Regions from separate parts of the Homo sapiens genome. Here regions 1, 2, 3 and 5 are each linked to region 4. The links are contacts of gene promoters, found by promoter capture Hi-C in blood cells and fetal thymus (Javierre and others, 2016). All regions are on one chromosome and are shown on one strand. Each heading gives the region's core, a stretch centred on a gene start or on the middle of the fragment in contact. The rest is flanking DNA. Distances are from core to core; before and after follow the strand shown.

Region 1 (4,740 bases), core at 2,186-4,685, 570 kb after region 4:
TTTTTGAATCTGAGTTTAGCCACTCCAGGCTTTGGCCCAGCCCCTGCCAGTCGTTCTCCCTGGACTCACCAGCCGGCTGCTGTGGCTGAGTCTCCAGTGCCCAGCTGGGTTCCCCACCCATCGACATGGGGACTTGCCTTCCTCTCTCCCTTGATCTAAACCTAGTTCTTTCTCCTTGTCTCCTCAAAAAGGAATATCTCTGGGCAAACAAAAGGCAAAAATATGGTTCACTTTTACTAAAATGAAACACTTATGGACTCCCCTGCCTGGGACTCCCACCATGGATTGGGAGCTGTTACTGGTGTCTCCAGAACATTCTGCATCTGTCAGACAGTAAATGTTTTGAAGGAGCAGCGAAGGCGCTCTGTCCAAATGCACACATACGTAAGAAACACTGGCTTGCAGGTGGTTCAGAGAATAAAGGAGTCAAATGGTCGTAATAGAGGCGGGTGGGCCTTGCCATGACTCTGAGTTGCACATGGGTACACGCAGGGAAGAAGTATTTGCAGGTGAGGCCCAGGTGAACACTGCATGCAGGCAGCAGGTGGTAAGATGGTGAGTTGGGTCCATTCACCCATGGGAGGGAGTGTGGGTGGCTGAGAGTAGGGGATGGCAGAGTCCACATCAGCTCCTGCTCAAAACCAGAAGCATCTGTGATTGTTGATGCCCTCTCTTTCCTAATTTCTAGCCAAGGGGAAGTGAGTGGTCCAGGACCAGGAGGTCAAAGCTATGGAGGAATTAGGTGGGTGTGCGGGGCTGGGCATGGTGGCCCTCCCTGCTCTGGCTGGGCTGCTGTTCTGCACGGTGATGGATGACTGCTGGCTCCTCAATGAATCACCAATTACCAGCTAACAGGGGTTTGTGGGCCCTTGCTGGTGGCTCTGTGGGGCTGCAGAGAGTTGGGGAACCACCAAATTTGACTTCTGCCTCTTCAGACAGCTCGTGACTGCCTTTCAAGAAGGTAAAAAAGCTTCACTATTCAGAAAGCGAGTGGCCGAGAGAGCTAGGGATAGAAGAGCAAGCAAGCTCAATCACGCCTAGGCAGAAAGAAAACTTTTGCTGAACTGCAGAAGTTCTGTAGTTTACTTGGCTCCCCCGCTGACCCAACTAATGTTCTAACTTTCAAAGAACCAGGTAGGAGTCTGACATGCTCACGGAGAAAAGAGACAGAAAAATCAAATCTTCCCTGAGAACTTTTAAAGTTACTTTCTTCTCTCCATTTCTGAAGGGACTTGGGTCCAAGTTCTTGCCCAGAGAAAAATTGCTCCTGAGAGCTCAGGGAGTGCAGAGAGAGCGTGTGCTTGGGAAGATGCCCCCAGGGGCAGAGGGAATTCTGATAAGGACCCTATAAACAAGAGATGATGCAGATAACAAAACCCCACCCTGGCCCTCAATGGCTCTGAGCCAGGCCCTGTGCTGAGGCTGAGTGTGGGGAACATTATGCTTTGTTATCAATTCTAAAACAAGACTCCACTTCATATTTTGATATCACCAACATTTGGATGTCTCTTACAATTCGTGGCATGTCAGCGTTAAATCCTAGTTTAATTCACAGCATTTTTTTTTTTACTTTTTCCAGTGGTATTTAAAATAATAGTGCATTTTATCACCTGTGGCACCTTAGATTTCTGCAAGTCGGGCTATACCCTATCTTACATATGAGGCCTGGAGAGGTTAGGAAACCTGCCTAAGGCCACACAGCCACTATTTGGACTTGAAACAAGGTGTATCTGGCTCTCAGTCACTGGCTTTCAGTGGGACTAGAGCTGGAGGTCCCATCCTTGCAGGGAAGGGAATGTCCACTCTCCAGGCAAGCATGAGGAGGGACGGGGGGCTTGCAAATCTGGCCCAGCCTGCTGGGCTACTGAATGGGAAGTGCGGTGATGGGACACCGGCAGCACAGGGCTGGTCTCTGTTTCCTGCACACAAGATTCTGTTTTTGTCACTGCTTAGCTCTTAAGCATCTGTTAGTTTTCAGAATCTGCCTCTGAGTTAGAGTCACTTTAACTCAGAGTAACCACATTATCAAAGAAAAAAATAATGGGAATCTTTTGGATCAAGAGTGACTAATTCTTTCAGGGAGGCAGTGTGGAACTGGAAAGAGGCCAAAGATTGAAGTTTGGTACGTCCGGGTTTGAATCCTGATTCTTGCTGCTAAAAGCAAGCTGGCAAGTTGCCTAGACTCTCTGAGCCTCGGTGTTTTCATCTGTAAGATGGGAACAATGACGCCACCTACCTGGAAGTACTGCTGTGAAGATTTTGTGTGTGGAAAATGTCCGGGGCATGGTAGGTGCTTGTTAATCGAAGTTACTATTTTATTGTTGTTCTTATATCTTATCCTGAGGATGATGATGATGATGAAGAAGATGATGAGGATGAATGGACCCAGCAGGGCCTTCTCTCAGTTGTCACACATCTCTGACACTCTCCCCTCCTGGGGCTCGGCCACCCCTGTCCACTTTGCTCCCCAGTTGCTGGGTGGATGTCCTCCCTCTCAGCCTCCTGGCCGGAGGTGCAGCCCTGACTGCGATCCGGGCAAACCCTCTACCGGCCCAGCATGCCCAGGCTCTGGCTCCCTTTGAGAATGGTCCCTTCTGTGAAGAGGTGGCTGAGAGGGGCCGTGAGGGTACCTTTAACGCCCCCAGGGGCCGGCTCCCGCATGGCACTTCCTCCTTCGTTCATTTCAGGCCTCTCAACTCCCAGCTTTTGTGGGTTAAGGGGCAGCACCAGAGGAAACAGCAGTGACAGCCTTGCCCAATAGTGTCTAGGTGTTGTTCACACACTGGGATTTCCTACTGAGGGATGGAGGGCACTCAACTTCCCCCATGGGGTCCTTGGGAGGTTAAGTTGTAGCCCTTTGCCCAGGTGCTCCCAGCGCCCCGACATACCTAATGTGCCCCCAAGACACTCATGCAAGTTGGAGTCCATAACTTAGGCCCTCACTTGGGACCCAAGTATACAGACAGTTACCTCTGTATTCTGTCAACCTCACCACAAGCCAACAGAGACCCAGAGAGGTTAAATGTCAAGTCCAAGTTCACAGAGCCAAGATGCAGACAAAGCCTAGATTTGAATGGCCATGTGAGCTCTGGCCCCTTCCTATACCCAGTGACTCAGGTCAACTGGCAGGATAGCTGTTGTTTGCCATAGAATCTGGGCAAGGCTTAAGCAGCAGAAAAGGGGAAAGGGCCATTTGGGGAAAAGAGCTCAGGGAGAAAAAGCAGGGCTGGAAACCCACCTGCTCGGGGACTGTGGCTGCTTTTCTGAAGACAGAGCTGGGCCCTCAGCCCGCCTCCAGCCCAGTGCAGGAGGGGGCTGGGAGGGCCCCTCATGTTCCTACCCAGCCTTGCACAGGCCCCTTTGGGCTTGCTCCAGAGGAAGATCCTGAATGGTCTGGCTGGAAACTCCCACAAATCTGCTCAGGAAGGCTATCATCACAAGAACTTTCTAGAAAAGGAGGTCCCCATTGCTCCCTTTTAGTCAGAGCCTAGAGCTCCACTCCCATGGATGGTTATAAACCTGACCGAAGAAGACAGGGGAGCGTTTCAGGAATCTCATTCCAAAAATAGCCATCAAATTTCAAATTCCAGCCCACAGCAAGCAGTACAAAGATTCATATCCGCTCCAGTGATGTCTCTGGCTGCCATTCCCTCCTCCCTTTGTCTGGGATTCCTGCCCCAGCCCCCGCACTGGCCCCTGCCATCTCTATTTAGTGAGCTCCCAGACCTTCTCCAAGACCCTGTGCAAATGTCACCTCCTCAGAGATGCCCTCCTGACTCTCTTAGAGCACAGTGCCTCCTCTGGTGCTTCCGATGCCTCTTGGAAACCTGTACTAGGTCTCTCAGTGTACTTGCCCATCATCTCCCCTAGATAGTACAGTGCTTGTAATACAGTAGGTGCTCAATAAATGCAGGTGGAACAAATGCATGCATGCATAAATGGCCATTTTAGCTTCGTTTATGCTGGAAGTTGCAGGGAAGTCATTAGATCTTTGCATCAGCCTGTTGAAGTGCATTTCATCTGAAGATTGTATGACAGTGGTCATAATAAAAGAAACAGTAATTGCTGCCAAGGTCTCTGCTCGCTTGTGAAGCCTGGATGGAGAGGCTGGTCGGACTTGGTCCTGGTAGCCTTGTCTTTACTGTCCTCTTGTGGCCAAAAGTTGCTGCTGCATCTGGAAAAGCTGGCAATTTCAATGAGGCCACAGGGGGATATTTTTACCTGTTGGAGCACAATCTTTTTGGGATCCCTGAGTCATTTTGAGCCCAGTTCCCCATAGACTGTATGTAATGTGATCCTCCTTCTCGGGCCTTGAAAATATGTTAAAATAAATAATAAGCAGCAATTGATAGGGCCTGAGCAGCCGCAAAAAGAGCATTAGAGACTCCATCAACTCTGACTTAGGCCTGTGTTAGGTACTTGGGTGTGGAAGGGAAAAATATAACAAAGTGTGTGACAAATTTATGCACTCAGAGACTTTGCTGTCTATTTCTAACACCTTCATCAAAAGTGAACAATACCATACACTAATAAACAAAAATACCCATTCATCTAGTAGCCAAGGTTTGGAATCAAATGGCCCTGGATGTGTATCCTGGCCCCACCACTGATTGCCTAGGTGACCTCGAAGGAGTCACTTCGTTGCTCTGAATGTCGTTTCCTCATCTGCAAGATGGCCTTTTAGGTGTACCCCCTTCCTCCTTCGCAAAACTATAATGATTAACTGAGATGACATGTGTC
Region 2 (4,227 bases), core at 669-3,168, 550 kb after region 4:
TTTTTTTTTTTTGAGACGGAGTCTCGCTCTGTCGCCCAGGCCGGACTGCGGACTGCAGTGGCGCAATCTCGGCTCACTGCAAGCTCCGCTTCCCGGGTTCACGCCATTCTCCTGCCTCAGCCTCCCGAGTAGCTGGGACTACAGGCGCCCGCCACTGCGCCCGGCTAATTTTTTGTATTTTTAGTAGAGACGGGGTTTCACCTTGTTAGCCAGGATGGTCTCGATCTCCTGACCTCATGATCCACCCGCCTCGGCCTCCCAAAGAGCTGGGATTACAGGCGTGAGCCACCGCGCCCGGCCTCAATTTATTTTTTGAACATTTTGCCACCTAGGATGGCACGTATGGAAACTGAGTTGACCAAAGCCATTGATGCACCGGAATAAACCATTTCTTACCATCTTCATGATACAGTAGAAATAAATCTTCACAGAAACCAAAAAACAAAGCAAAACAACGACAACAACAAAAACATGGCTTCACTGGAACAAAGAGAGCTGTTGAACTTGGGTGTGGCATGGAATCTGTCTGCACCTCAGTTTCCTCATCTGTTCAATGGGGAAACTGATTTCTTTTCTCCACACCCAGTTGGGGCAGATTGCCATGAGGATCTAAACCCAATGCATAAGTGAGGGGAGGGAAAAAAAGAAGCTTAAAGTGCACCACAGAGGTAGAGCAGGAGCATTATTGGGTGGTGGGAATTTGCTCTAGATGAGAGAGAGCCTGCTGCAAATATAGGATTACATTTTTAATTACCTTCAGATGCCGACCTATGTAAACAGGCCTGTTATGCCTCTTTGGGAGGGGATAGGAGAAACGGATGGGATGGGACTCATTAACTTGCTGGCAATGCTTTTTTTGTGGCAGTTTTAAGGAAAACCTTTAGGAGAGGGAAAAACAGCCGCCTCTGTTCACAGCTGCAATGGCAAAGAGATGCAAAAGAGCCGGTCCTTCTTCCTCTTTCCATCCTTTTCTGTTTTCTGTTCTGGGAGGTGCATTTGTCCACTTACAGCACTTGGCAACTTCTCTTTGGCAATGTTCATAAACGTTGCAGTGCAGGCATTTCCTGTGTGTGGTTTTTTTCCTTTTGAAGCTTGTTTGCTGCACCCTTTGGTGAGAGTTGCACCTCAAGGAGGGCTGGAGTACCTGTATAGTGCTGGATTGTGCAATGCCAGACGGATGGCTTTTTTTTACCCCTGGCAAGATAAGACTCTATGAAGTATGATTTTGTTAATAGTCTCTCTCCCAGTCCTGGTCCTCTTGGGAGCCTCCCATGATTGGTCAGTTGGATGATTATAATGGGCACTAATTATACCTGGAAGCTAAGGTATAGCAGGCCTCACTTACAAAGCCCTTGGTGATAAGGATTTTGGTAAATACAATGAGACGAAAACGACTTAATCTTTCTAAAAGGACAAAAGAATTACTTCTTGAAAAATGAGCAACTTAAGAAAACGGTTAAACAGAGGAAAGAGAAATGAAACAGAAATGCTTCCAGCTTTTTACCGATGAGGAGAGAAGAGGCAAATTTGGATTAACCCTGTGTGGACTGCCGTGGACTCAGTTGAGAGCAGTCATCATCTCGTCCTGGATGGATACTAAGAATGTTCTGATGACACAGTGACTCCCAATAAAGGGAATTCTCAAGTGTGAAAGCCAAATACAGCCCTTCTTTCTAGACCCTAAATATGTACATTGAAGCCAAGAAATAGCCCCAACCTACGCCCAGATACAAAGGCCCTTAGTAAGGCTTTTCTTCCTTCTGAATGATTCATGAGCAGCTATGCCCCAGACCGTGAGGCTGATCTTTAGCCTGTAGCTCTTCCCCCTAGAATTTATCAACCACGAGTGTTCAGCAAGGCCAGGATGACTGTAGGAGAGCACGCAGAAGAGGGAGCTTGTGCACAGAGAGGCAACGAAGGCCACATGAGTTCCAGAAGGAACTTCCTGGAAGGAGGGGTTCTGAGCATAGGGAGCAGAAGGAAGCCATACAGCTAAGGGAGAATTGAGACTTGCTATTTCCAGAGGAGAGCTGATGCCAGTGTTCCACACACCTGTGTGGACTTTCCATTGATTTCTTTCCAGCAGCTGGCTTGCTTCTTCATGATTTTGGAATGACCCAATTAGGCAGGGCTGTGGTAGCTTAGTACCGCGCTGCTCATTGGAGCATCTGGCCACATGGACCAGGACACCCCCAGGCCTAATCTCCAATAGACTCTCTGCACACCTAGATGTTTTACATCCAGGAAGAAAACAATTTTGTGGCAGACAAGTTCATTTGGTTCAATCGCTGAGCCAGTGAGTCCAGGAGCCCAAGTTCAATGTTCTTAGACTTGTCCACAGGCCTCATTTGGTCCAACCCTGCCACTTCACTGGCCTTGATTCCTACGGTTCTACCATCTGTTCACTCTGATCCAGCCACTGGCCTTCTTGCTGTTCTGCACACAAGCCTTGCTCCTGCCCCAAGACCTTCCCACTTACTCTTCTCACTACCTGGAACACTCATCCCCCAGAGAGCTTCATAGCTCCCCACTCACTTCCTTCAGGTCTCTGCTCAAAGGCATGTTCATTGTCAAGCTGTCCCTGAGCATCCTGTACAAAATGCAACAGCCTCCTCTCCCCAAGGCCTCACTCCCTCCTCCCGACCCCCTAGAGATTTTTCTGCAAAGTGTTTATCACTATGTAAACATTCTGTTCCCATTCTGTTCACTTGTTTATGTGTTTATTGTCTACCTTCTCCACTAAATGAAGCTTCATGAGAGAGAAGACTTTGTTTTGTTCATGCAACAGTACCAGAACTCAGCACAGTGCTTGGTCTGTAGCTGGTGTCAAAAAAAAAAAAAAAAAAAAAAGTTTGGGCCAGGCGTGGTGGCTCACTTCTGTAATCCCAGCACTTTGGGAGGCTGAGGCAGGCAGATCACCTGAGGTCAGGAGTTCATGACCAGCCTGGCCGACATGGTGAAACCCCATCTCTACTAAAAAATACAAAAATTAGCCAGGCGTGGTGGCAGGCACTTATAATCCCAGGTACTCGGAAGGTTGAGGCAGAATTGCTTGAACCCATGAGGCGGAGGTTGCAGTGAGCCAAGACCGCTCCATTGCACTCCTGCCTGGGCAACAAGAGTGAAACTCTGTCTCAAAAAAAAAAAAAAAGTTTATTTAACTGAATTTGAACAAAAATCCCCACACATACCAGTTTAGCTGGAACTCTTCTCAGACCACATTCTAAGGCAGCTTCTGAAGACATGTGCTCTTGGGGGATATTTAAGGGGACCAGCCCTTTCTTTGCTATAACTGAAACACGAATATGGCCCACGTATCGTACTGAAAGGATGTGATTATAAACTAAAAGTAGATGTGGATGACAGAGACCTTGCCCTCTAGCAGCTGGCTGAGTAGAACCTTCAAAGTTGCCTTGTGTGGGTCCTTCTCACTTTTGATCTATTTTAGCAGAAAGTGGTATCCAGACTTTTTGCCAGAATATCGATCATTTCACTAGATTCTACTAGTCTAAGTTGTCAGAGAAGGAAAAGGGATATTGTTATGTTGTTCAACAGAAATAGACTAAAATAGGCAGCCTCAGTTCCTGTCTTCCCCTTTGCAGTGAATAGTAGCAGTACCCCCCAGCCACACTCTGGGCTTCCAACTCAGGCTCACTGGGATAGATTGTGTTACTCACAATACTTTCTCTCCTCCTGCTCTTTCATTGTTCACTATGAGTTCCCATACCATTGATGTTATACTTGGCTGTGGGACTTGCTTTGGCCATATAATAGGGACAGAAGTGACAGTGTGCCAGCTCTGACCCTAGGCCTTCAGAAGAAGCAATTTTTTTTTCTACCTTCCCTTCTTGAGGTTCTAACACCCAACATGAGAAGAGCCTGAAGAGCCATCAAATCAAGAATGAAAGCCCCAAAGAGGAGACCTGAATCTAGTGCACAGCTTGAAGCAGAACTGCCCCAGCCAACCCACAAAACCATGAGTGAAAAAAGCACATTTGTTGTTGAGATTTTGTATTGTTTGTTACTCAGCATTGTTGCAGTAATAGCTGACTAATGCACTCATTAAGAGCTTTCTAGTGGTCAAGACTGTCCAAGATTTCACTATACATCTCTCCACCCTTTTCTTCCAAGTGACTAGCCTTGAAAGGGACAGGTACCAAAGGTATCTCTGTCAAATGCACTTTTGATACAGTTACCAATGTTAGATAAAGAAAAAGGCATTACCTA
Region 3 (4,363 bases), core at 436-2,935, 610 kb after region 4:
CCTGGGATGAGCCATTTGTACAGATATTTCTCACCAAGTCTCACCTGCGGAGTAATCATTGCAAATGCCATATTCTTCCTGAGCAGCCAAAGTTCCTTGAATAAAACATTGGAATTGGGAAAGGGAATTCTTACTTTTATAATTGGGGAAACTGAGGCACAGAGAGACTCAACAAATTGCACAGGAGCAAAGATAGGCCCTGAGTCTCCTCAGCCAGAAGCTTCACACCCAAGAGAGCTTGGTATAACCAAAGCGTGGCCAAGGGCAGAGTCGCCTGGGCACTGGAGGAAGATGTGTGTTGTGTTCCCAGCCCACCTCAGACCCATGGACGCCAAACCTCTGCGGGTGGGCCCCAGGGATCTGTATTTTTATCAAGTTCCCCAGACAATTCTTATGCACATTGAGGTTTAAGAACCAATGTCTTTAAAATGGAAATTCTCCGGATGTAACAAATGGGACTCTTCTCTTTCTGCCCATTGCCCCTGTCCCATCTCTGCCTGCCACTGTCACACGAAGCTGCAGCTCAGCCCTTAGCTGGGTAGGGTCTGAGTGGCCAGCTCTGGGCTTTAGAGCAGGGAAGCTGCACAGAATCCCTCTGAGCCAGGCATAGGTGATCGGCGTCAGAGCCAGGAGACTTGAGCCTGAGTCCCTCCCCTGCCCCAATGTGTCCATGTCCTTACACAAGCCACTTCACCATGCTGGGCCTCATCTTCCTCCTCTGCAGATGAAGGGTCTGAGCCAGTTCCTCTCTACAGTGGCTCCTGGCTCATCACTGTGGTCTGGTGAACAGCTTCACCCAGGTGTCCAGGAAGGAAACCACCCACAGGCACTGCTGGCCAGCACCTTCACCTTTGGCTTCCACATTCTCCCTTGAGAGTTTTGCCCCCTTCCCCTGAGCTTCAGGTGAAAGCAAAGCTGCAGTGAACCTGCCAGTCTTGAGACGGCATTGAGCAATGTGTGCAAAAGCCAGAAGGGCAAGATTCCTGTGCCTACGAAGGGATGGAGTTGCACCACTTCACACCTATTAGGATGGCTCACTTCATACCTATTAGGATGGCTATCATTTTCGAGAATGGGGAATAACAAGTGTGGGTGAGAATGTGGAGTAATTGGAACCCTCAGGCCTCGCTGGTAGGTATGTAAAATGGTGCAGCCACTGTGGAAAACAGTATGGCGGTCCCTGACAAAGTTAATCGTAGAACTACCCTAGGACCCAGCAATTCCACATCTAAGTACATATCTGAAAGAACTGAAAGCAGAGACTTGAACAGAAATCTGTACACCAATGTTCATAGCAGTATTATTCACAATAGCCAAAAGGTGTAAATGACCCATGTCCATCAAGAGATGAATGCATAAACAACATGTGATTAGATAGAGACAATGGAATACTATTTAGCTGTAAAAAGGAAGGAAAGTTTGATACATGCTACCTAGAAGACCTTGGAAACACGATGCACAGTGAAATAAAGGCAGTCCCAGAAGGACAAATATTGTAGGATTCCGCTTCCATGAGATACTTAGAATTGCCAAATGCACAGAGACAGAAAGTAGGCTAGAGATTAGCAGGGCTGAGGGAGAATAAGAAGGAGGCGTTTCTGTTCAACGAGTACAGTCCATGCTGGGGATGACGAAAAAGTTTGGGGATTAGAGAGTGGTGATGGGTACACAGCATTGTGAATGTAATTAGTATCACTGAAAGGTACACTTACAAATGGTCAAAACGATAAATGTGATGTTCTGTATATGTTACCACAATTTTCAAATAAAAGGACTGAGTGGCTTGGCACAACTGCTCATCTTAGTGTCTTCTAGGATAAAGTTGGTTAGACAGAAAGTCAAGGAGGGGCAGAGAGAGAAGGAGCCCGTGTCTCTGAATCCTACTGATTTACAGTGTAATCTTCTTGGGGGTGGGGAGTGTATACGTCTAGTCTATTTTGTCCTATCTTTAATCCAGTGATGATTTCAACTCAGGCTGAAATGACATCGCTTATCTTTGTAGCAGGAGCCAGAGAAGAACAACATGAGGGAGGATTTGGCCTGGGCACTGGCAGCCACTGCCCTCTGCCACCTCCACTACTCGCTCTGGCCTTGAGCTCTTTGCCCAGCAAGGGGACTGGCCCTGCTGAACTGTGCACACTTGTCCCTGTCCACCTTCCAGTCCAGAGGTTGCAGCCTCAACCATGGCCATGGTACAGAGGTCTCTCCTCCCCAGCTGCCCTTGGGAGTAACGCACCTCCCTGGTGGTTGGCAACATGTGGCCTACCACCAGGCATAGGGTAGAACATGCAAGGAAGAAGAGATGGTGTGATTAGAGTCCCAACCTTTTATCCAGCAAGCAGAAGATTTCTCTGCTCTTAGTTCATTCGGAGCTGAGCCTCTGTCCCCAAAAGACAAATCTGGCCCTATCTCCCCCATCACTGCCTCCTAATCCCTCTGAGAACATTTTCTACCAACGAATTTCTGGAACACATCAACTCAGACTGTTAGGCTTTTTGTTTTGTCTTCCAGAAGTTTTGGAATTCTGGAAGGCAGAGGAAGAATCTTAGTTGAAATAATCACTGGATTAAATATAGGACAAAATAGACTTGATGTATGTGCACCCCACCCACAAGGAGATTACACTGTAAATCAGTAAGACTCAGAGACTCGGGATCCTTTTCTCCCTGCCTTCCTCACTAACCAACCTTAACCTGGGAGGACACCAGACTTTGAGACTCTGGTGGCTTAGGGAGTTTAACATTGCTAAGGGCCTGCTCCTAACCTTGAAGTCAGTGTCCTGAGCCAGGGATCCATTGAGAAAGCCCAAGTGCGGAGTAGAATAAACAGTCGTTGGATCTAGAATGGTCTTGCTAAATATACTACAAAGCAGCTACCTTACCATGTGCAGAAGCAGCAGCGTCCACCCTTTAAGAGAAGACGGGTCAGCTGGGACCATGTGCTATTTTAGCCCTGTTGAAACTAGGAATGGATGTGGTGGGAGAAGTGGGCAGTGGCTTACGTGCCTTTTGATCTGAGTGAAGATGTTTGTTAAGATGTGTTTACCGCAGTAGGCTGGCCAAGGCTCAATCTGACTTTTGTACTTTCTCCAGCTGTCACTGGGGCCAAGTAGGCCCTCTCTGTGGCCTGCCAGGCCTAGGCCAGATTGGATAAGCTTTTTTTTTTTTTTTTTTTTTAAGACAGAGTCTCATTCTTTCACCCAAGCTGGAGTGCAGTGGCACGATCTCTGCTCACTGCAGCCTCCACTTCTCAGGTTCAAGCGATTCTTGTGCCTCAGCCACCCGAGTAGCTGGGACTACAGGCTCCTGCCCTCACGCCTGGCTAATTTTTGTATTTTTAGTAGAGATGGGGTTTTGCCATGTTGGCCAAGCTGGTCTCCAACTCCTGGCCTCAAGTGATCTGCCCACCTCGGCCTCCCAAAGTGTTGGGATTACAGGCGTAAGCCACTGCGCCCGGCCCACAGATAAGCCTTTTTATAAAGCATTCCAAGAACAGTGCCCCTGATTTTGAACCTAGCTCAACACCTGCCTCTCAAGGTTAATGAGCTTTTCTGTTTCTTTCTCCTCCATCCTTGCTTTATTACTGTGTACACGTGGCAGCTTCCTGGTCCCTCACAATGGTGACTAAGAGCAAGGACTCTGATGTGAGACTGACAGTCTCCTGTTCTGGCTCCAGCATTTCCTAGTTAAGTTATTTTAGACAACTTAATATCTGAAAACCTCAGTTTTGTCACCTCTAAATTGGATATAATCATAATACCTAAATTATGAAGTATTGTGTGCAACAAACAAGACAAAATGTCCGTAAAATATTTAACACAGTTGATGGCACATTGTCAGCTCTAAAGGAATGTGAACTGAGATAACAGTTTTCTCCCTAGTTATCTCTTCCTCCTACTCTTCCATCGATCTTTCTCTTTGAATGTGCAAGTCTCAGGAGTAAGGGTTCTTCTATCATTTTCTTGTCTCTGGGAGAAGAGATAATGGAATGATGGAATGAAAGGAGGCAAATACTGTGTCCACCCTTCCCACCTACCATCATCCAGGTTAGTTTCAGGGATCCGGATATAGGCATAAGTAATTGACTATCAGCCTGGACTTTCCCATACGGTCCCTAAATATCCAGCCAGGTGTTCGGACTACCAGTTTCCACATTGCACCACGGCCCCTCTCTGTGGGTGGACACTGTGAGTCACAAAATGAGTGACTTGCTTCAGATTCCGGCGACCCCCTGACAGGCAGCCCAAGCTGCACATCGGCTTCAGGCTCCCCGAGAGCCCAGCCCAGGAAGTCTCGGCTTTCTTTTTGTTTGGTTTCCCTCCGAGCGCCAGCTCCTAGGAAGGGCACGTCTGCCACCTGCTGGC
Region 4 (4,355 bases), core at 1,320-3,819:
AGGCAACGAAATTAAATGTGGGACATGCACTATCACAGAATAACTTTTTAATTGCTTAATTAAATCAGAGATTTAAGGAAGGAGAGATTCAAAAGAGTTCCCTTTGAATGAGAAAAATAAGGATATGCCAAAATGGATAAAGTTACTAATCATGGGAACAAAGCCCTTAGTATTTACATATGATAAAAATGCAGGCCAGTATAGTAAAATCAGTAAGTACATTCTTTAAAATTTCAATTCAGTATATTCCTGAGATTTTATTATACAGGTAGTACTATAAAGAACATAGAAGACCTCATTATCCAACTTAATTCAGACCAGGGTTTGATTAAAAAAATAAAAAACAAAAAACTACCACACAGGACAAAGAAATTGCCATAAAATTGAGTTCCTATAAATGTGTTCCAGTTTAAGTAACTAAGTCCCTAAAATGAGCCTTAGTAAAGTCTACGCTGCATATAGACAGACTTAGGCACATCAAGTATACAGGTGACAATTAGCAAGTGTATAAAGCTATGGTCATTTCGCTAAATGTGTAAATCTAAAGGCAACCAAGTAAAAGACCTAAAAAAGGAAACTGTTAAGTCCATTTGTACATGGATTTAACAGTGAAGCATTTCATTCTTCATGTTTTCACTTGGTGTCTTGAAATAATCCCCTTTCTGTCTCCACTCTCCCTCTTAGACACTGCACCTGCCTTATTTATTTATGAAGTCTGAAGGTTAGTCCTACCTGCTGAGACTAATTAGCCCTGTGCTTTGTATCCTATGCAATCCTGTCTGATTAAATGTACACATTTGTTTTACTTCTTTTCAGGCTCCTTCTCACTCTACTTCTGATATTCTGATTAATATCAAAGTTGGGAGTTACAGTGATTCTCCTCTGCCTCCCCCCCAACCCATTTTTATTTTGCCTGCATCTTATTCTTTAGTGTGCAAATGTGGTTGTGATTTTTTTCCAGTGCAGGGGAATTCGTTGGCCTTGTCAATCTCGGTATCATTATTTTTAGTAGTCTTTCTGAGACTTTAGCCTATAAAACAGTTTTGCTGAAACCCCAAACTCTCTAAATATTACATGGCAAATTTGCTTTCTTTTGGAAACCTCGGTGCTGATGGGCCAGCTGAAGTGCAGGTGAGCTTTTTCAGGGAAGGGTGGGACAACAGTACATCCTGGACTCTAGACTAATACTACTCCTAAGAGGCAATTTGCTAAATCCTACTGATTTATTTTTTTCTTTTTTCTCTTTTTCATGTTGTAGTGTCCAGTCTACTTCTTACTGGGTATTTGCAAAAATGAATTTTCTTGCTCTATCACCCAGGAACATTGTGTTTTGGGAGCTGGGTCTTTCCTCTTTAACATAATTCCATTCCCCATTTTGTAGCAAATCAGTCTGCTCCTCCTCTAATACCTAAAAGTCAACAAATACCTGCCTCAAGCCCCAGGTTTCCCATCTTCTCCCGAAGGTCTTCTAGCATCGGTTTGGTTAGCAATTTCCTGCCAGAGCCACCTACATCTTGATTATTTTGGTCAGTCTTTCGGGGATTTCATTTCAGACCCCCTTCGAGAAACACTGTAGCCCAACTGATCCCAGGGGTTGGTGAACTTTCAGTTTTATTTTCCCTGACGGTGTTAACGCCCAAACTTTTCACCTCCTAAGTCAAAAAGGACTTTGACTCTAGCTCATTTCCTACTACCTCCAACGTCAGTTAAAAAAAAAAAAAAAAAAGCAAAACACCACTCTACATTTAAAAGAATCATATATTTTTCCTTAAGGATACTTTTAATGTTTCTGACATTTAGCATTTGTTTTTTGCATAAAAAGTCGTTTTGGCATATCCATCCTAGTGGGACTTAACATTTCATGAAATGATTCACTACTAATAAACAAAAAAGGGAGGAGGGAGGCCTCATGGGTTAATAGTTTCTTTCATTGTAGATGACCAGGAACTTTGACCAGCCCCTTCACTTCCCCAAGCTCTCTGAAAGTGGAGGGTTGATCTTTCCTTTTGACCACTTTTGTCGCATCCCGTCTAAGGGTGGCTGATTTCACTGCTGAATTAACCACCAAGCACCCCCCCACCCCCTCCCCCAGCCACCACTTTCTCAAATACTACCCTTCCTTTTCCCCCTCCCTTAAGACTTATTTCTAATATTTCTAAAGTGCACTGTTTTGGGCCTCTCCCCATCCCCGCCCCCCAAGTGGGCTTTCCTTCCGCCTTCCTCGGCTCGGATTCCTGACTTGGTCGCCACCCCCTTCTCCTCCTCTCCCACCCCGCATTGTCTTTCTGAAACCGCCCCCTCCCGGAGCAAGTCCCTGCACCCTCGCCCAGAATCCCGGGCTCGCACACACTCCGCGCAGGCCGCTCCCCCTGCACACTCCTCCCTCCGTCTCCCCCCGGCTTCCCCGCCCCTCTCTTCCTCCTTCTTTCCCTCCTCCCTCTCCCGGCGCCCGAAAGGATCATTGTTAGCCGCCCCCGCCCCGCCCACCCCGGCTGTTTATTTATGCACACGTCACTGGGCCGGCCCCGCCCTCCGGCATCTCATTAAGGCAGTGTGTTCCTCTCGCCCTGTCAATAATCTCCGCTCCCAGACTACTCCGTTCCTCCGGATTTCGATCCCCCTTTTTCTATCTGTCAATCAGCGCCGCCTTTGAACTGAAAAGCTCTCAGTCTAACTTCAACTCACTCAAATCCGAGCGGCACGAGCACCTCCTGTATCTTCGGCTTCCCCCCCCCTTTGCTCTTTATATCTGACTTCTTGTTGTTGTTGGTGTTTTTTTTTTTTTTACCCCCCTTTTTTATTTATTATTTTTTTGCACATTGATCGGATCCTTGGGAACGAGAGAAAAAAGAAACCCAAACTCACGCGTGCAGAAGATCTCCCCCCCCTTCCCCTCCCCTCCTCCCTCTTTTCCCCTCCCCAGGAGAAAAAGACCCCCAAGCAGAAAAAAGTTCACCTTGGACTCGTCTTTTTCTTGCAATATTTTTTGGGGGGGCAAAACTTTTTGGGGGTGATTTTTTTTGGCTTTTCTTCCTCCTTCATTTTTCTTCCAAAATTGCTGCTGGTGGGTGAAAAAAAAATGCCGCAGCTGAACGGCGGTGGAGGGGATGACCTAGGCGCCAACGACGAACTGATTTCCTTCAAAGACGAGGGCGAACAGGAGGAGAAGAGCTCCGAAAACTCCTCGGCAGAGAGGGATTTAGCTGATGTCAAATCGTCTCTAGTCAATGAATCAGAAACGAATCAAAACAGCTCCTCCGATTCCGAGGTAGGAAAAGCCCCTCGGGCTGGTGGGGTTTTTTATCTGTTTCCTGGGCTTGGCAAATGTTGCTGAAAGGGGAGAAATCGGGGCTGGGGGCGGCGGCGGGGCCCGGCGGGCGGCGTGTGCGTACGGTGCCACCATTGCAAAAACTTGTAACCCTGTTTTTTTCTACCCCCCCCTCGACCTCGCCGATTCTTTTTCTCCCCCTTCTCCCCCTTCTGCGTGGCGTTTGCCCCTCGCCCTCCCCACCTCCACCCCTCTGGGAAGGCGGAAAGACGGCCTCCGCCTCGCTCCGAAAGTTTCCGAGACAAATCCCGGGAAAGTTTGGAAGAAGGTGAGTACGCCCCGCGCGCCCCGCAGCCGCCCGGAGCCGCCCCCCGGGCCGGCCGCCCCGCGCGCCCCGGCCCCGCGCCCGGCTCGGCCTGGCCCTGCGCCGGCCCGGTCGGGGCGCCCGGCCCCTCGGGGCACTTTCTAAAAAGTTTCTCCTCACTCTCTCCCGCTCCGCGCGGCCGCCGCTGTCCCCTCGCCGCCCCGCCATGTTAGCGGCCAAGAGGCAAGATGGAGGGCTCTTTAAGGGGCCACCGTATCCCGGCTACCCCTTCATCATGATCCCCGACCTGACGAGCCCCTACCTCCCCAACGGATCGCTCTCGCCCACCGCCCGAACCGTAAGTGCCTCCGCGCCCGGCCCCCGCCCGCTGCCCGCCCGCCCGCGCCGCCCGCCGGGCCCCGCATGCGGCCCCTGCCCTGCCCCCTCCCCGCCTCCCCCTCCCCGCCTCCTCCCCTCCCTCCCTCCCCTCCCCCGCTCGTGGCCCAGGAGGCCCGAAACTCTCCAAACTTTTCTGCCTTTTGTGGACTGGATTTGTTTGCACTTCGCCACGTTCTTGCTTTCAGTTTGCTGCCTCGTGATGTTGGGGAGACCTCTCTGTCCAAGCAGGGCTTTGTTGGTGGGGAGGGGGGGGAATCCGAAGAACTTTCCTTTGCGTTCTGGTTCCCCCTCCCCCTTTGGTGGTGGTGTTTGTTTCTTCACCCTGGGAAGATGACTCTGTGGCTCTTCCTTTGCTCTCTCTCCCTCTCTCTCCTTCTCTTCCTT
Region 5 (4,138 bases), core at 915-3,414, 590 kb after region 4:
ACACTGTTGACTGGCAGTGGGACAGCAGCGGGCAAGTTAACCTCTCTGAGACTCAGTGTCCCCATCTGTAAAATGGGGATATGGATTGTAGCATCTTCTTCATAGGGCTATTAAGGGGATTAAAAAATATTAAGAGGCATGTGAAGCACTTAGCACGTGGACATATTCAAGGAAGTTCCCTGTCATAGCAACCAGTAAAATTCCACCAGATTCTCGGGAAGCTGAGATCATGGAAACATAGAAGTTTCCAGAGATGCCACAGGAAGCAAAGGGAAGGGGAAGGATCCCCTAACTTTGCACTTCCTTCTGTCCACCAGTCTTTCATTAGCGCCCTTCAGTGGCCAAACCCATCTGGAAGCCAGAAAGAGAGCCTGATCTTTTTTTTTTTAAGTTCTGGGATACAGGTGTAGAACGTGCAGGTCTGCTACACGTGCCATGGTGGTTTACTGCACCTATCAACCTGTCATCTAGGTTTTAAGCCCCACATGCATTAGGTATTTGTCCTAATGCTCTCCCTCCCCTTGTCCCTCACTCACCAACAGGCCCTGGTGTGTGATGATCCGCTCCCTGTGTCCATGTATTCTTATTGTTCAACTCCCAATTATGAGTGAAAATATGTGGTGTTTGGCTTTCTGTTCCTGTGTTAGTTTGCTGAGAATGATGGCTTCCAGCTTCATCCATGTCCTGCAAAGAATCTGAACTCATTCTTTTTTATGGCTGCATAGTATTCCATGGTGTATATGTGCCACATTTTCTTTATCCAGTCTATCATTGATGGGCATTTGGGTTGGTTCCAAGTCTTTGCTATTGTAAACAGTGCTCCAATAAACATACATGTGCATGTGTCTTTATAGTAGAATGATTTATATTCCTTTGAGTATAGAGTCTAATCTTTTGCCATTACTTTCAATGACAAAAACCACAATTACTTTTGCACCAACCTAATAGCTCCTTCCAGTGCAAAGTAAGGCAGCAGAGGAACAGGCAGGAATGGGGAGTGGATCCAGGAACAAGCAGACGTCACATACAGTGTGCGTGCATGTTGATAAAAGATAAACCTCAGCCGAATTAAATTTAAAGGAGTTTAATTGAACAATGAATGAATCGCGAATCGGCAGACCCCAGAATCACAGATTCACAGAAGCTCCGGGGGTGGCTCATAGTCAGAATAAATTTATAGACAAAAAAGGTAAAGTGACATACAGGAATCAGAAGTGAGCTACAAAATAGCAAGATTGGTTACAGCTCAGCGTTTGCCTTATTTGAACGCAGTTTGAACACTCAGCAGTCTATGAGTGGTTGAAGTATGGCTGTTGGGATTGGCCAACACTCAGCTATTGCTAGGGGTGCATATGATTAAGTTAGGTTTTCAATTTTGTCTGACTATTAAACTAGGTTACAGTTCATCCGCAAGGACTCAAATATAGAAGTACGGAGTCCTTCTCAAGCCATATTTAGTTTGCTGTAACAGTGTGCATGTTTCACTTTGTGGGGATGCAGTCTAGGTTGCACGTTCATAGATATAACACATCAAGGCCAGGCATGGTGGCTCACACCTGTAATCCCAGCACTTTGGGAAGCTGAGGCAGGTGGATCATTTGGGGTCAGGAGTTCAAAACCAGCCTGGCCAACACAGTGAAACCCTGTCTCTTCTAAAAGTACAAAAATTAGCCAGGCATCGTGGTGCACACCTATAAACCCAGCTACTCGAGAGGCTGAGGCAGGAGAATTACTTGAGCCCAGGAGGCGGAGTTTGCAGTGAGCACAGATCATGCCACTGCACTCCAGCCTGGGCAACAGAGCGAGACTCTGTCTCAAAAAAAAAGGGAGGGGGAGGGGGGTCTACCCTATATGATCTTCACCAAAACCCTGTAAAGTAGGGAAACTAAGGCTCAGAGCGACTGCTTTATCCTTTATCAGGGGCCACATGAGCCTTTAAGCCCGTTTCCAGAGTGGCAGTCCAGCCAGTTTTACCCAGCACCTGCGCTCCTGACTGACCCCATTTGGCCCTGAAAGTTAGCTCAAGTGAGACTTTTGGTCAAACTGCAGTCTCAGAGTTAAACAATGGGTACTCATGGACATAAAGACAGGATCAATAGACACTGGGAACTGCTAGAAGTGGGAGGGAATGAGAGGAGCAAGGGTTGAAAATGGGGGGATGCAGTCTAGGTTGCATGTTGGGTACTATGCTTGGTACCTGGGTGACGGGATCATTTGTACCCCAAATCTCAGCATCACACAATATACCCGTGTAACAAACCTGCACATGTACACCCGAATCTAAAATAAAAGTTGAAAAAGAAAAATGACACTGTGGTGTTGCCACATTGTGAAGTGGCTGAAGGTGACTATACTCTCAGTAACTCAGATCTGCTCCTTCAGGAGGGCAAACTCTGAGACAAATACCCCAGGGTAGCTGCTCCCACTTGAATTTTTCTTATATATAGGCTTTAGCACTTAGACTTGCTTCCCCAGCGACACTCAGCCTAGTAACATAGAAAAGGTAAAAAGAAGGCCAGGAGTGGTGGCTCACACCGATAATCCCAGTACTTTGGGAGGCTGAGGTGGGCAGATCACTTGAGGTCAGGAGTTCAAGACCAGCCTGGCTAATAAGGTGAAACTCCGCCTCTACTAAAATGACAAGAATTAGCTGGGCGTGGTGGTGAGCACCCAGCTACTTGGGAGGCTGATGCAGGAGAATCACTTTAACACAGGAGGCAGAGGTTGCAGAGAGCTGAGATTGCCCCATTGCACTCCAGCCTGGGCAGCAGAGTGAGACTCCGTCTCAAAAAAAAAAAAAAATCCCAAAAGCAAAAGGTAAAAAGAATTAATTACAATAGATAGAGAGTTGGTAGAGAGTTGGATAGATGATAGCTTTGGGGAAGAAGAATATTTAATTCAGTTCAGATTAAAATGCAGCATAAATTAGTTGCCGACAAGAAATCCAAACTGTTGCCCTCCCTTTCTGTCACCCCTCCCAAAGGCTCCAGGTAAGTCTGGGCAGGGCCAGGAGGGAGGACTGTGGCTGCCTGTCCTGTCCCTGCCCTCCCTCAACCCAGGCAGCAAGCCCCCACCCAGGCCTGTTTTTCCTCAGCACCAAAGTCCAGGGTCTAAGGGGAAGTCGGCAGGTATTTATTAGGACGGTGCAAAAGTAATTGCGGTTTTTGCATTACTTTTAATAAGTAATGCATGCATATGCATGCTTCACTTTGGGGGCATGCAGTCTAGGTTGCATGTTCATAAATACAACACATCAAGAAACAACAGCAAAGCATATTGCATGGTCTACCCCATGTGATGCTCACCAAAACCCTATATGGTAAGGAAACTAAGGGTCAGAGGGACTGCTTTATCCGAGGCCATGCAAGCCTTAAGCATGTTTTGAGAATGGCAGCCCAGTCATCCTTACCTGGCACCTGCACCCCTGACTGTCACCATTTGGCCCCAAAAGTTAAGAGCAAGCATGCCAGAAAGCGTTTTTCTTTTTTCTTTTCCTTTTCTTTGGGGGATGCTTGGGGAGAGGGGTTGGGAAGAGGAAGGATGATCTCATCTCTTATTTTAATAATGAATCACTGGGGCCCTTGCTAGTGGGAAGTCCAGACTCTGCACCCCTCAAGCCTCCCACTCCTGAATTGTGTAATCACCCTGGGGGCTTACCCAGTCCAAAGGGAGAATCAGCCTGGAATCCAGAAACCAGGAAGAGAGAAAGCTGGGAGCAGAAAACACAGGTCAGAAGCTGGCCTGCAGATGTGCTTCAGGTGACAGACACCATGTTGCCCCACACAGGTTAAACATCAATGAATTGTTATCAACTTTTGGGTATCAGGAGCATTTTGAATTTCTGGCTTCTTTTGAAAAGTGAATTGTCAGGCCGGGCACGGTGGCTCATGCCTGTAATCCCAGCACTTTGGGAGGCCAAGGCGGGTGGATCACCTGAGGTCAGGAGTTTGAGACCAGCCTGGCCAACATAGTGAAACCCCATCTCTACTAAAAATACAAAAAATTAGCTCGGCATGGTGGCAGGTGCCTGTAATCCCAGCTACTCAAGAAGGCTGAGGCAAGAGAATTGCTTCAACCCAGGAAGCAGAGGTTGAGGTGAGCCAAGATCACACCATCACACTCCAGCCTGGGCAACAGT

What was found. Contacts are between HindIII fragments. The CHiCAGO score rates a contact against its expected background, and 5 or more counts as called.
Region 1: a fragment that was not itself captured here is called in contact with the fragment with the promoter of TCF7L2 in region 4 in 2 of 17 cell types (M1 macrophages and M0 macrophages); the score reaches 7.9 in M1 macrophages.
Region 2: a fragment that was not itself captured here is called in contact with the fragment with the promoter of TCF7L2 in region 4 in 2 of 17 cell types (M1 macrophages and M0 macrophages); the score reaches 7.4 in M1 macrophages.
Region 3: a fragment that was not itself captured here is called in contact with the fragment with the promoter of TCF7L2 in region 4 in 1 of 17 cell types (M1 macrophages); the score reaches 6.5 in M1 macrophages.
Region 5: a contact is called between a fragment that was not itself captured here and the fragment with the promoter of TCF7L2 in region 4, in 1 of 17 cell types (M2 macrophages). The highest score is 5.0, in M2 macrophages.

Annotation. Positions count from the first base shown.
Region 1 is chr10:113,517,236-113,521,975 of GRCh38, forward strand. No RefSeq gene overlaps it. Among named protein-coding and RNA genes, the nearest start is that of HABP2, 33 kb to the right of the region's middle. The HindIII fragment of the contact is 4,935 bases long and covers 969-4,740 here.
Region 2 is chr10:113,498,172-113,502,398 of GRCh38, forward strand. No RefSeq gene overlaps it. Among named protein-coding and RNA genes, the nearest start is that of HABP2, 53 kb to the right of the region's middle. The HindIII fragment of the contact is 1,658 bases long and covers 1,090-2,747 here.
Region 3 is chr10:113,559,287-113,563,649 of GRCh38, forward strand. The region is part of intron 1 of HABP2 (hyaluronan binding protein 2); the gene reads left to right. Among named protein-coding and RNA genes, the nearest start is that of HABP2, 8.4 kb to the left of the region's middle. RefSeq lists a silencer at 124-418. The HindIII fragment of the contact is 2,934 bases long and covers 219-3,152 here.
Region 4 is chr10:112,947,678-112,952,032 of GRCh38, forward strand. It overlaps TCF7L2 (transcription factor 7 like 2), which reads left to right and starts at 2,570. Exons shown (of 15, transcript NM_001367943.1): 1 at 2,570-3,268; 2 at 3,530-3,596; 3 at 3,806-3,930. The coding sequence starts at 3,080. It overlaps LOC124902502 (a long non-coding RNA gene), which reads right to left. Exons shown (of 2, transcript XR_007062291.1): 1 at 4,101-4,355; 2 at 2,952-3,330. The HindIII fragment of the contact is 8,187 bases long and covers 1-4,355 here.
Region 5 is chr10:113,534,732-113,538,869 of GRCh38, forward strand. No RefSeq gene overlaps it. Among named protein-coding and RNA genes, the nearest start is that of HABP2, 16 kb to the right of the region's middle. The HindIII fragment of the contact is 7,074 bases long and covers 1-4,138 here.